Regions from separate parts of the Homo sapiens genome. Here all the other regions are linked to region 3. The links are contacts of gene promoters, found by promoter capture Hi-C in blood cells and fetal thymus (Javierre and others, 2016). All regions are on one chromosome and are shown on one strand. The core of a region is centred on a gene start or on the middle of the fragment in contact, and the rest is flanking DNA. Distances in the headings are between cores, read along the strand shown.

Region 1 (4,602 bases), core at 1,536-4,035, 200 kb before region 3:
TCATCAGTGTTACCCTGCGTCCTACTTACCATCTTTCCCTCCAACTCCAGGCAAGCCTGTCTGCAATCTCCCAAATCTTATACATGTTGAACTATTGTGGCTGATGATGCCAGGGTAGGTAATCATGAGAGCAGCTAAAGGGAGACCATGGTGTTGCTAACTTAGCAGAAGCCTGGAGCTCAGAGCGAGTGCAGGGTAGCCAGAGTGGCACTGGGTGGGGAAGTGGGTGGAAATGCGGGATTGCTTTCTTGATTTCTTTTTAATTAGTTCATCCTGGTTATATAGAAACTACCAATTTTTGTATATTGGTTTTTGTATCCTTCAACTTTACTGGATTTACTTATCATTTGTAAGACTTTTTTGGTAGTCTTTAGGTTTTTCTAAGTATAAGATCATGTCATCTGTAAAGAGAGACACTTTCACTTCTTTTCCAACTTGGATTATGTCCTTATTTCTTCCTCTTTCCTAATCGATCAGGCTAGGACTTCCAGCACTATGTTGAATAAGAATAGTAAAGGTGAGCATCATTGTCTTATTCCAGTTCTTAGAGGAAAGGCTTTTAGCTTTTCCCCAGGTGGTATGATGTTAGCTGTGGGTTTGTCATATATGGCTTTTGTTATTTTGAGGTATGTTTCTTTTACGCCTAACTTGTTGAGACGTTTTATCATGAAGGATGTTAAATTTTATCAAATGCTTTTTCTGTGTTTATTGAGATGATCATATGGTTTTTGTCCTTCCTTTGGTTAATGTATCACATTTATTGATTTGCATATGTGGAACCATTTTTTGCATTCCTGGGATAAATCCCACTTGATCATGGTGTATTATATTTTTGATGGTTGTTAGATTTAGTTTGCTAGTATTTTGATGAGGATTTTTACATCTATGTTCCTGAGAGATATTTTTCTCTCATAGTTTTCTTTTTTTGTGTGTCCTTGTCTGGTTTTAGCATCAGGTAATGCTGGCCTTACAGAATGAGTTAGAAAGATTTCCCTCCTCTTTAATTTTTTGGAATGATTTGAGAAGAATTAGTGTTAGTTCTTTATAAGCTTGATAGAATTCAGCAATAAAGTGATCCAGTTCTGGGCCTTTCTTTGTGGGGAGAGTTTTTATTATGATGTAATCTCATTATTGGTCTGTTGAGGTTTTCTGTTTCTTCCTGGTTTAATCTTAGAAGGTAGTATGTTTCCTGGTATTTAATCAATTCCCTCTAGGTTTCCTAGTTTTTGAGCATATAGTTGTTCATAATTCTCGCTGATGACCTTTTGCATTTCTGGTGTCTGTTGTCATGTCTCCTTTTTCATTTCTGATTATGTTTATTTGGATCTTATCTCTTCTTGGTTATTCTAGCTAGCAGTTTATCAATTTTGTTTTTCTTTGCAAAGAACCAACTTTTTGTTTCATTGATCTTTTGTCTCTTTCATTATTTATCATTGCGGTTTGGTGGTTTTCTGTAGTGGTAACATTTGATTCCTTTCTCTTTCTCATTTGTGTATCTGCTATGCCAGTGAGTTTTACAGTCTTATGTGTTTTCTTGATGGTAGACATCATCCTTTCTGTCATGTGTGTCCATGTGAAGAGACCACCAAACAGGCTTTGTGTGAACAACAAGGCTGTTTATTTCACCTGGGTACAGGCGGGCTGAGTCCGAAAAGAGAGTCAGCAAAGGGAGATGGGGTGGGGCTGTTTTACAGGATTTGGGTGGGTAGTGGAAAATTACAGTCAAAGGGGGTTTTTCTCTTATGGGCAGGGGCGGGGGTCACAAGGTGCTCAGTGGGGGAGGTTCTGAGCCAGGAGGAGGAATTTCACAAGGTTAATAGTTCAGTTAAGGTGGGGCAGGAACAAATCGCAATGGTGGAATGTCATCAGTTAAGGCAGGAACAGGCCATTTTCACTTTTGTGGATCTTCAGTTGCTTCCGGCCATCTGGATGTATATGTGCAGGTCACAGGGCATATGATGGCTTAGCTTGGGCTCAGAGGCCTGACACTTTCACTTCTAGATGAAGGACTCTCAAACATTTCTTGTAGGACTGGTCTAGTGGTGATGAATTCCCTCAGTTTAAAGTATTTCTTTTAAACAAATGAACACTTTTCTCTAGATAGTGAATCTAAATCTCCTCCAGCTTGTTCCATTGCAGATTGACTTATATAATTTGGTCTGAAGATAATTCATCTTAGAGAAGATGATGCACTCAAAACAGAGAAGATGTTAAGAGGCTTTTGAAACTATAAAGCAGTCCCACTGCTGTTGTCCGAGTTTATCAACTCTTTTGCAAATTATGTATGAGTCAACACTACTGCTTACCTGGCTTCTACTTTATGAGTAACAGCTAAATAAATGAGTCTAACTTGGAGAAAATCAATGTTCATTTTCTTTTGCAGTTGTCATCTGCAGCAGGACCTCACTTGAGTACTGCCTCTGAGCCTAGGTTCTGAAAGCTAGTTTAAAATTCCCTCTTTAAGTTTGTCTGCTGAATGTTCTGTGACAAATTCCCTTTCACGCACGTCCATGTGAAGAGACCACCAAACAGGCTTTGTGTGAGCAACAAGGCTGTTTATTTCACCTGGGTGCAGGTGGGCTGAGTCCGAAAAGAGAGTCAGGGAAGGGAGATAGGGGTGGGGCCGTTTTATAAGATTTGGGTAGGTAAAGGAAAAAGGGGGGTTTTTCTCTGGTGGGCAGGGGTGGGGGGTCACAAGGTGCTCAGAGGGGGAGCTTTTGAGCCAGGATGAGCCAGGAGAAGGAATTTCACAAGGTAATGTCATCAGTTAAGGCAGGAACAGGCCATTTTCACTTCTTTTGTGGCGGAATATCACCAGTTAAGGCAGGAACCGGCCATCTGGATGTATACATGCAGGTCACTAGGGATATGATGGCTTAGCTTAGGCTCAGAGTCCTGACATTCCCTACTTCATCTCTCATGCTGAATATAGTCCCTGCAGGATACTTTAATTTTTTGGAATGATTTTTAAAGATTGGTGTTACTTTGGTAATAATAATTGTTTTTATTTTGGTAAATATTTAACTTTAATCAGGTCTTCATTAGACTTAAACTAGTTGACTTCAATAGTCATGGAATGCCTTTAATATTCAAGAAAATAAAAAATAGGCTGGGCATGGTGGCTTATGCCTGGAATCCCAGCATTTTGGGAGGCCAAGGCAGGAGGACTGTTTGAGCTCAGAAATTTGAGACCAGCCTGGGCAACATGGCAAAATCCTATCTTTACTAAAAATACGAAAATTAGCCAGGAATGGGGGCATGTGCCTGTAGTCCCAGCTACTCAAGAGGCTGAGTGAGTATTGCTTGTGCCCAGGAGGTCGAGGGTACAGTGAGCCGAGATCATGCCACTGCACTCCAGCCTGGGTGACAGAGTGAGTGAGACCCTGTCTCAAAAAAAACAAAAAAACAAACAAACCAAAAACCAAAAACTAAAACAAAACAAAACAAAAACAAAAACAAAAAAACTCAAGAAAATAAAAACGAATATAAAATTCTAGAAGAATACTACAGCTCATATGTTAAATGTAAGTCAATAATAAAGTTTTTATGAAATGTTATCCCTTTTAAAAGAGTTCTTCTTATGAATATAGGTTTCTTAGTGTATATTTCAAGAATAAACAGTAAGACAGTTTGTTTCTGCCATCCCAAGCTACCTGAGATTAAAAACTATATTTTCTAAAATTGAGTTGCTGGCAAGGAATTTGTCTTATCATACTTATTCAGAATTTGTTTTTCTAGGCCAGTAATGCCTGTAATCTCAGCACTTTGAGAGACCAAAGTGGGAGGATCACTTGAGCCCAGGAATTCAAGCCCACCCTGGGCAACACAGCAAGACCCTGCCACTCCATTATTTTTTAAAATAAAAAATAAATAAATAAAAATTTGTTTTTCTATAGCCTAAAGAAAAATAATTGCCTCTGTTAACATTACATTTCCAAGAAAAATTGTCTGCAAATAGTTTAATTTTAGATGATTACCCCTCTCCAAGGTAGGGCTGGAAGGAGGATAAATTTGGCAGAGACATAGGTTGCACATACTGATCTCAGTTTCTGTTAGGTGCATATAAATAAAAAAAAGTTTCTTCATTTTATTAAAGCCCTATTTTTGTATCATTTTTAGTAATGTATATACCAACATAAATGCTTGATCTCAGTCTCTCCTGATAATTACAAATCAACATATCCAATGCTTAAAGTTACTGTTAAATTAATGTAGAATTGTCAGGTCTTCATTAGAAGTAGTAAGTAGAACACAGAGATTGGTCAAATTTTTCAGTACTTATACTTTTGAAAAAAAGAAAAGAGTATTCTATTCCTGCCAATTAGTATAGTCTTTACCCTGATAAACAATGTCAATATACATTATGATTTTAATTATAAACCCCCTGGAGACAGCAAGTATGTTTATATTTTATTAGTCATTGTACTTAAGAAGCCCCAAAGCTCTCTATTCCTAGTTCAGATTTTCTTTTGTTTGTGTGTGTTTTTGTTTTTTTTTGGATGAAGGTTAAGAGGAAGCTTTCTTTCTTACTTAAAGGTTTGTATGCTGGGCAGATAGTTAATGGTACAGAAATCCAAGCTTTATTTGGGGGAACAAGAGAGC
Region 2 (4,892 bases), core at 718-3,217, 230 kb before region 3:
ATATCAGTGTTATTGTTATTTTCATTAAACAGAATCAAAAAGGTATTCATGGTGGATCACCTGAGGTCAGGAGTTTGACCAGCCTGGCCAACATGGCAAAACCCCGTCTGTACCAAAAATATAAAAGTTAGCTGGGCATGGTGGTGGGCACCTGTAATCCCAGCTACTCAGGAGGCTGAGGCGGGAGAATCGCTTGAACCCAGGAGGTAGAGGTTCCAGTGAGCCAAGATCACACCACTGCACTCCAGCCTGGGCGACAGAGCAAGACTCCATCTCAAAAAAAAAACAAAAAAAAAAGAAGATATTCATGAAGCTGTATTTAGATGACTGATTTTATACAGATTATTGCCAATTACTATCAGTATAGGCAAGACTCACATAACATGGTATGAAGGAAATCAGAATCTGATGTCTGTAAAGTAAACCATATGCTGTGTCCCCTCCACTGTTTTCCTCACTGTGAAAACTAAAATGTGAATTGGTGACTTTCCAGGATGTCACCATTTTTCCCTTCAGAATTTCTCAGCATCCCTTTTTGGTCATAGCTCAGCTCCATGAGGGCTGACATTGTCATTTGATTGTCTGGTCTGGATAATGGGTATATGTTAATATTTAAACACCTGAATATTAAATAGTACAGGAAGGCAAAAATTATTAAGACAATCACAAATACTATAAGGAATATTCGGCCAGGCGCAGTGGCTCACGCCTGTAATCCCAACACTTTGGGAGGCCGAGGTGGGCAGATCACTTGAGGTCAGGAGTTCAAGATCAGCCTGGCCAACATGGATAAACCCTGTCTCTACTAATAATACAAAAATTAGCTGGGCATGGTGGTGTGCACCTGTAATTCCAGCCACTCGAGAGGCTGAGGCAGGAGAATCACTTGAAACCTGGGAGGCAGAGGTTACAGTGAGCCAAGATGGTGCCACTGCACTCCAGCCTGGGTGACAGAAGGAAACTGTGTCTCAAAAACAAAGGAAGAAAAAAGAAATACTTGGAGCCCACTTTATATTTTAAATCACATTTATGGTCCTCTGTCCAGTTTTGTTGTTGTTGTTGTTGTTGTTTGTTTTGAAACAGAGTCTTCCCTCTGTCACCCAGGCTGGAGTGAAGTGGCACGATCTTGGCTCAGTACAACCTCCACCACCTCCTGGTTTCAAGCGATTCTCGTGCCTCAGCCTCCGTAGTAGCTGGGATCACAGGCACACGCCATCATGCCCAGCTCATTTTTGTATTTTTTTAGTAGAGACGGGGCTTCGCCATGTTGGCCAGACTGATCGCAAACTCTTGGCCTTAAGTGATCCGCCCACCTCAGCCTCCCAAAGTGCTGGGATTACAGGCATGAGCCACCACGCCTGGCCTCTCTGTCCAGTTTTCGATACAGTGTTTAAAGATGGACGTAGCCTTTTAGTATTTAAAGAGAAAGGAAATCATGATAATTGTAAGTCTGCAGACCACATAATAAAGAATAGTCCCCCATGCCTAAGGAAGATAGGAACATACGTGAGACTTCCTTAGTGTATTTGCAGGGCTACCATGGGGAAAAAGGAGTACGCTTGTTCTAGATTACTAGCAACAGATTTAGGTCTCTAGCTCCCCTTCCCTAAATGTAGGTCCCTGAACAGGAGAGATTTAGAAATGTGGGAGGGCATTTTTGGTTATAATAAACTAGGAGGGGTGACTATATGGATGATGGCCAGATACAGTCAATATCTTGTGCTGCACCAGATTGCCCTGCATTAGAGTTGTCCTGCCCAAATGGGACTTGTTCTCCATTGAGAAACTTTGCTGCAGACGCTAAAACCAGAACTGGAGGGTAGGAGTTGCAGGGAGACAGACTTTAGATCAGTCAGTATAAGGAAGAACGTTCTAAATCGTTAGAACTAAAAACAGTATGGGTTGCCTCACAAGCATTCATGCAACCCTCAACCGAAAATTCTTAAGAAACAGCTTGGATGATTCCAAGTGAAAAATATGGTAAATTTTTCTTTTTCTTTTTCTTTTTTTTTGAGATAGAGTCTCACTCTCTCACCCAGGCTAGGAGGGTGCAGTAGGGTGATCATGGCTTATTGCAGCCTTGACCTCTTGGCCTCAAGCAATCCTCCCACCTCAGCCTCTTGAGTAGCTGGGACTACAGGCATGTGCCTTCGTGCCTAGCTAATTTTTCATTTTTTATATTTGTATTTTTTGTATTTGCTGTTTTCTCCTCCGTGTTAACATGTTTATTTGTTATGACCCAAAGTCCAGACTAGGTATTAATACAACTTTGTATTCCTCTCTTGCAGATTTACACTCTAGACATCCACAGACCTGAGGATTGTTGGAATAAATTTATCTCCAACCGAACACTGGGACTAATAGTTTTTTTAGGGATTGTCCTTGGGAATTTGTGGAAAGAAAAGAAGACAGACAAAACAAAGAAGGGTATAGAGAATAAAATAGAAAATTAATGAATGAAATTTATCTAGGAATTTTTAAAACATTTTTTACAAAATATAATTAGATTTGAATACAAAATCTGATACAATATGTTAAAGAATTAAGAACCTGAAGATGAAGATTTAGAGCATATTTACCTGGATTTTACTTATTTGCTAGCAAAATTCCCCCTTGTCACAGAAACCAGGGACTCTTCAGGATTTGAGATGGCCTTGAGTATTTTAGTTGATACATTCTTCTGCCCATTATAATTCTCACCTGAAGTTATGGGGATTGCACGGGTTTTGGCACTTTAGAAAAAGCCTGATGTGGGTCTTACATAAATGAATGTCTGTATAAGAAAATGGACTCTTTTTTTTAGGGAAAAATAAAAGCAACTATGGGAAGTTGGGCCTTACTGTTCTTTATTGTGACCTTTAGTCACTGCCAAAAACTGTAATTTAGGAAACCAATTCTGTTTTTTTATGTTTTAGGAGAATTTAAATAACCAAATAGAAGTATTTAGCTATTATAGCCACATGTACCACTGTTTACCAACCCTGACTTTTATTTGGGAGATTTGGTCTCTGTGTGCAGTCACAGTGACCAGAACAGACAAGTGGGCAGTCACCAGAGACTACCTTGATTTTCTGTCTATATCTTTTTTATCTTATCCCATTATAGTTTATAGGATAGTGATATTTAAATGTTTACTGTTTTTTCCTTTACCTGCCCTCACCTTCACAATGTTCTCAACACAGTAACCAGAGTAATTCTCTTAAAACCTGAGTAAGGTCATGTCATTCCTCTCCCCAGAACCCTCCAGGATCTCCCTAGGTCACTCAGTACAAAACGAAAGTCCTACCACCTGCCAGGCCCTCCATGACTTGGCTTCATGTCTGACTTCTCACACTCACACCTGTAGCCCCACTGGCCTCACTCTTCCTTAAACAGGCTGGGCAGACTCCTACCCCAGGGCCTTTGCATTTACTGTTCACTTTGTCTGGAAAGTTCTCCCCAGATCATGTCTTACTCCTTCACTGCAGAACCTTTCTTAAATGTCACCTTCTCTAAGAGGCTTTTCTTAGCCATCTTCAAAAATCTCACCTGCAAATACCACCCATACTTCTGTCCCCTTGCTTTTTTTTTTCTCTTCAGCTCTTAATATTAGCAACCTGAACTATATCTTACTTGATTTAAATTGCTCTCATAGACAGTAGGCTATAGGGCAGACAGTCATTTGTATATGTGGGTGTGGGCAGCAGTAAATATAAAATTGCATGATGAGGGCGACGATGATGGTGATGATGAAGATGATGATGCAGCTAACAGCACTTACATATGCCAGGCACTGATAAGCATAGGAAAAATTATTTAACTGTTTACTCAGCAAATACTGAGCCACTGAAAATGACTTGGGTCAGTTGTTGCAGCTGTAACTTTGCTATAGCAGCAGTGAGTTGAAGGGGAGAAGAATTAGGAACATAGTACCCTACTTTTGAGGAAATATGATTGGCTTTGATTTTAACAGAATAGACAGAGTTTAAATCTATGTTGATTTCTGTTTTCTTACAGATACGACCCTATATTTTAAAATGCTTAAAACATCTTAACCCATTGCACTGGTTCCAATTAAAGAAGGGTGAGTACAATGTACTTCAATTTTACAACATTCTCCTTAGTTTATGAAAGTTAAAAATGGAACAGATTTTAAAATCACTAAAAATCCTGCAGCTTTTTTGTGATACAGGGGACAAGAGAACATAACATTAATTCATACATACTCAAAAAGCTTATTCTCAAAAAGCTGCTTAAACATAATTGAATTATTTTAGTTCTTTTTCATTTTTCCTCCCTTCTCCCAGTAGAAAACGCTGAAAAAATAATATAAATGGGTAAGGAACAGATTTTTGGAAAAGAAAAAACGATGAAGTAGATTATTAGTCTCTAGAATCACAGACTTAAGACAACTCGAGTTGGAAAGACACACAGCAGTCATCCATCTAGATCAGGAGTGTCAGTCCCTAGGAGAGTTGAAATGAGCATTGCCAGGAGTTTGTGATAGTTGAAATGACCAGCATTGCCGTGGGAATTTATTCAGTGAGGAGGGCCCTTGCCCTACTCTTCTGCTTCAAAGTCACTGTGAGTTTTTCAATAGAAATCATGTGAAAGAACTTTTTAAACTGTGGACAATTATCTACCACAATTTCATGATGGGGGTGGAGATAGGATGGGAGCTACAGGGTCTAAAAAGTAAATGAATACAACTATTCCAGCTCTAACTGACCTGTCCTCTGAATTCCCAGAGCACTTGGTGGGTGCCAGTGGAGCAGGAGCTGTGAATGCCAGTCACAGCCACAGCTTGCCAGGGTTGGAATCTGCTTTAACACCTATCAGTTGGGTGATCTTGGGCAAGTTCCCTGACCTCTCTGTGGCTCACTCGGGGATAATCATAATACCTTTCTCATGCA
Region 3 (4,691 bases), core at 558-3,057:
GTTTGTTACAAAGCAACAGATAACTGAAGCACGCTTTAAGTACTATTGTTTATCTCCAATTCAGACCTGAAGAAGTAAATACTTAAGTTTCAGAATTCTGCAAATACTTGCAAAGCTCTATTTCTTTTGATAACTAATGCACTTATTCTTCTTTAACAAAATAAAAAGTAAAGGAAGCATGGGGAAAAATATAAGCTGATTTTACTTTCATCCATATAAAAATTACAAGCAGAAAGGATTGAGCCATGAAGACATATTTAACTTATTTCCAACCCATACAATAAGTGAATATATATTTACTGACAGCTTAATAGTAACAACAACAATCTTACCGCACTTTCTATATGTCAGGTACTGTTCTACGTGATATAAGTGTGGTAAGTATATATGCACACACATACTCATCTTGTCCTCAGATAATGTCAGACAAGAATAAGTCCTATTATTATCTTCATTTTCCTGAGTGGGAAAATGCAGCACAAAGTAGTTAAGCCCAAAATATACGGCTGAATTTCCCACTGATAAAAGTAGATTACGTTTGCCACCAGAGAAAAGGCAGCCTAGCCTACTTAAAACAGTCAGAATTTCAATGACCAGGTTAGAACAGGTGTATCCCATTAATATACATCAAAGTGATTTCAGCTGTCAGGATGTAAACATTAAGATCAACTTGAGAGGCATACTTTATTTACTTATTTATTTACGGAGACGGGTGGCGGCGGGGGGGGGGGTCTCACTATGTTGCCCAGGCTGGTCTAGAACTCCTGCCCTCAAGTGATCCTCCCTCTCAGATCTCTCAGGCCTCAAGTGATCTCAGCCTCTCAAAGTGCTGGGATTACAGGCGTGAGCCACTGCACCCGGCCTAGAGAGGCATACTTTAAACAGAAAGCATGTTCATTACAAAAGAGAAATGCTGTGACATCTACAAAGAGAAAATGAACAATATACGTCTACCTACCTATGCTTAATACTGTTGACAACTGCTTGCAGAACAGGCACGTCACACATTTTAACTTGGAGTGAACCTAAGCATTCTATATAAATTTCGACAAAATTCAGATTCCTGCAAACATCACTACTGTAGACATCCTGACCCACGATATGAGCACATTCCGCCTATGTGCCATCAGAGTTGGTGGCAGAGAAAATACCCGAAACACAAGGACCCACAGAAGACAGTCTGAATGGTCTGGACGACATGACAGCGGCCATACCGCCTCAACCTCAGCCAGCCCCAAGAAGCCATCTCCCCGAAAAACGCAGCATCAAGGCCCCAGAATATACATTTCTCTGAATCAAAAAAAAAGAGGAGGAAGGTCCAAAGAGAGGCCAGATTCGGTGTGAGGCCGGCCAGCGATGGGAAGAGGTACCAGGGAAGGCTACTAAGGCCAGGGTAGCAGTCGTCTCTCAGACCGCTGTTCCAAAATCCTAAGGGACCAGAAAGATTCTATCAAGAACTGAACAAGCTGACAATCATTTCAAGTCTATAGCCTCGAAGGCCCCTGCACAAGGTCCCCTCCAGCTTTCTGCTTCTCCCAACATTTGCCTCCCCAGCCGACCTCAGGCCCGCCCCCTTGGACGTCAGGCCGGCTCCTAGCTTCACGCCCAAGAGCCGTGGCCAACCTAAGGAGATTAAGGCTGTGGCTTTCTTTCCCCACCTCTGTACTCCCGCGTTCCTGGGAAATACTCACTTGCCAGCCAGATCTTTATGAGAGCCGCTCGAATTCATGAGCTGGGCCAAATCCTGTCGCACGGCTGCCGCCATCTTTCTCCCAGCTCAGCGGTGGATGCGGGGGCCTCTGGCAGCCAAAAAGAAAACGAGTGTGGTCCTCCAGAGTGCAGCCAGAGGGAACCTGAGATGCTACAGAGTAGCGTCTGTGTGGGCCAGAGCGTCGGGTGTGGGAGCCTGGGCTAGCTCCGCCCCCAGGGTTGAGTGATGCGGAGCTCCACTCCTCAGGTCTGAGGCCTGCCCAGGTCTCTCCTACAGGCTCTGGCTCTCACGCTTGGACTTTGGATTGGCTGATGAACTCCAGTAGTGAGTCTCTGGTGTAACTCCAATGAGTAGCCGGTACATAAAACGACTGCGTTTTCGCAAAGTTCCGTTTCTCACGTCTGTGGTTTACCGTCCTTCGATCTTTCAGGCAGCGCTTAAACTGCCTGTGGTAAAGAATGAGTTTTGTTTCCGATTCACCACAGAAGATACTTTTTAGAAATACAATTAAAATGTCCCTATTCCTCCTCCCACTCCGTGCACTTTATAATGGTTGGTCAGACATTCCAGTTTGTCCAGTACAAAGCGATTTTCCCTCTGTCGTCCTGGAGTAATGATTAATATCCCCCCTTTCGGCCGGGCGCGGTGGCTCACGCCTGTAATCCCAGCACTTTGGGCAGCCGAGGCGGGCGGATCACGAGGTCAAGAGATCGAGGCCATCCTGGCTAACACGGTGAAACCCCGTTCTCTACTAAAAATACAAAAAAATTAGCCGGGCGTAGGTGGTGCACCCCTGTAGTCCCAGCAACTCGGGAGGCTGAGGCAGGAGAATGGCGTGAACCCGGGAGGCGGAGTTTGCAGTGAGCCGAGATCGCGCCACTGCACTCCAGCCTGGGAGACACAGCGAGACTCGGTCTCAAAAAATAATAATAATAATAATAACATCCTCCCTTTCATTCTAGAAACCGTTCCATTTCAATGGAAGATTATATGGTCGCCTGCGTTTGTATAACATTCAATACTCATGTATTCTTATAGAATTTCTGCAAATACAAGCAAATATTAATAAAATAAAATTTTACCTCTCACAAGCAACACCACATAATTGTTCTGCCTTGGTTTTTTTTTTTTGCACTTTTCCTGGTACTGTGGTTTGAAATAATTGTCTTCTCCAAAACTCATGTTGAGGGCTGGCGCCGTGGCTCACGTCTGTAATCCCAGCACTTTGGGAGGCCGAGGTGGACGGATCACCTGAGGTCGGGAGTTCGAGACCAGCCTGACCAACATGGAGAAACCCCGTCTCAACTAAAAATACAAAAATTAGCTGGGTGTGGTGGCACGTGCCTGTAATCTCAGCTACTCGGGAGGCTGAGGCACGAGAATCACTTGAAGCTGGAAGGCGAAGGTTACGGTGAGCCAAGATTGCACCACTGCACTCCAGCCTGGGCAACAAGAGGGAAATTCCGTCTCAAAAAAAAAAAAAAAAACAAACAACTCATGTTGAAACTTCATCTTTAATGTGGCAGTATTTAGAGGTGGGCCTTAAATAGGTGATTGGATCATGAGGGCAAAACCCTTGATCTATTCATGGATTAATGGGTTGTCATGGGAGAGAACATGTGGCTTTATTAGAAGAGGAAGAGACCTGAGCTAGCATGTTAGGAAGGTCACTCCCTTGCCATGTGATACCCTGTGCTGCTTCTGAACTCTAGCAAGTCCCCACCAGCAAGAAGGGTCTCATTAGATGTGGCCCCTTGACCTTAGACTTCTTGGCCTTCATAACTCTAAGATATAAATTCCTTTTCTTTATAAATTACCCAGTTTCAGGTATTCTGGTATAAGCAACAGAAAACAGACTAAGACAGCTGGACATCTTACCAGCTGTCCAGTCTTTCAAAATCACTCTTTTTGGAGCTAGAGGATATTACACAGTGAGAGTATGCCTTAGTTTATTTAATCCTTATAGGACATGTTATTTTTAATCAATGCGATGAATAACCTTTGCATACATTATATATGTACAGGTAGAACACATTACCAGAAATGAGGCAAAGGATAGACATACAATTTTGGTAGATATTGCCAAATTGCATTTTATAGGAATGGTATCATTTTGCCTTCCTACCAGAAATATATAGGGGTGCAGCTTCCTACAGCCTTGACTACAAAGGATGTCAAACTTTTGGATTTTTGCCATCTTGATGTGTGATAAATGGCATATTCCCTCTATTGGGAAAGAGAAAGAGAAGAATACCTGAAGAAGGAATCCCTTTTAAGAATGTGTATTAGTCTGTTCTCAGCCAGGCGTGGTGGCTCATGCCTGTAATACCACCACTTTAGGAGGCCAAGGCAGGTGGATCACCTGAGGTCAGGAGTTCGAGACCAGCCTGCTCAACATGGTGAAACTCTTTCTCTACTAAAAACACAAAAAATTAACCAGGCGTGGTGGCGGGTGCCTGTAGTCCCAGCTACTTAGGAGGCTGAGGCAGGAAAATCGATTGAACACAGGAGGCGGAGGCTGCAGTGAGCTGAGATCGTGCCACTGCACTCCAGCCTGGGTGGCAGAGTGAAATCTCAAAAATAAAATAAATAAAAAAAGAATGTATATTAGTCTGTTCTCACACTGCTATAAAGAACTACCTGAAACTGGGCAATTTGTAAAGAAAAGAGATTTAGGCCGGGCATGGTGGCTCACGCCTGTAATCCCAGCACTCTGGGAGGCCGAGGCGGGTGGATCACGAGGTCAGGAGATCGAGACCGTCCTGGCTAACACGATGAAACCCCGTCTCTACTAAAAATACAAAAAAATTAGCCAGGCGTGGTGGCGGGCGCCTGTAGTCCCAGCTACTCGGGAGGCTGAGGCAGGAGAATGGCGTGAACCCGGGAGGCGGAGCTTGCAGTGAGCCGACATCGTGCCACCGCACTCCAGCCTGGGCGACAGAGCGAGACTCCGTCTCAAAAAAAAAAAGAAAAGAGATTT

The links. Contacts are between HindIII fragments. The CHiCAGO score rates a contact against its expected background, and 5 or more counts as called.
Region 1: a contact is called between a fragment that was not itself captured here and the fragment with the promoter of COPS4 in region 3, in 2 of 17 cell types (neutrophils and M1 macrophages). The highest score is 5.7, in neutrophils.
Region 2: a contact is called between a fragment that was not itself captured here and the fragment with the promoter of COPS4 in region 3, in 12 of 17 cell types (M1 macrophages, total B cells, neutrophils and 9 more). The highest score is 7.8, in M1 macrophages.

The regions. Positions count from the first base shown.
Region 1 is chr4:83,232,794-83,237,395 of GRCh38, reverse strand. No RefSeq gene overlaps it. Among named protein-coding and RNA genes, the nearest start is that of COQ2, 50 kb to the left of the region's middle. RefSeq lists an enhancer at 1,807-1,856. The HindIII fragment of the contact is 3,468 bases long and covers 1,052-4,519 here.
Region 2 is chr4:83,261,760-83,266,651 of GRCh38, reverse strand. COQ2 (coenzyme Q2, polyprenyltransferase) reads left to right here. Exons shown (of 7, transcript NM_001358921.2): 7 at 2,289-2,828. The coding sequence ends at 2,453. Among named protein-coding and RNA genes, the nearest start is that of COQ2, 21 kb to the left of the region's middle. The HindIII fragment of the contact is 4,496 bases long and covers 1-4,215 here.
Region 3 is chr4:83,032,299-83,036,989 of GRCh38, reverse strand. It overlaps COPS4 (COP9 signalosome subunit 4), which reads right to left and starts at 1,807. Exons shown (of 10, transcript NM_016129.3): 1 at 1,692-1,807. The coding sequence starts at 1,765. RefSeq lists enhancers at 1,318-1,377, 919-1,424, 1,438-1,497, 1,538-1,587, 1,688-2,037 and 2 more. The HindIII fragment of the contact is 6,632 bases long and covers 1-4,691 here.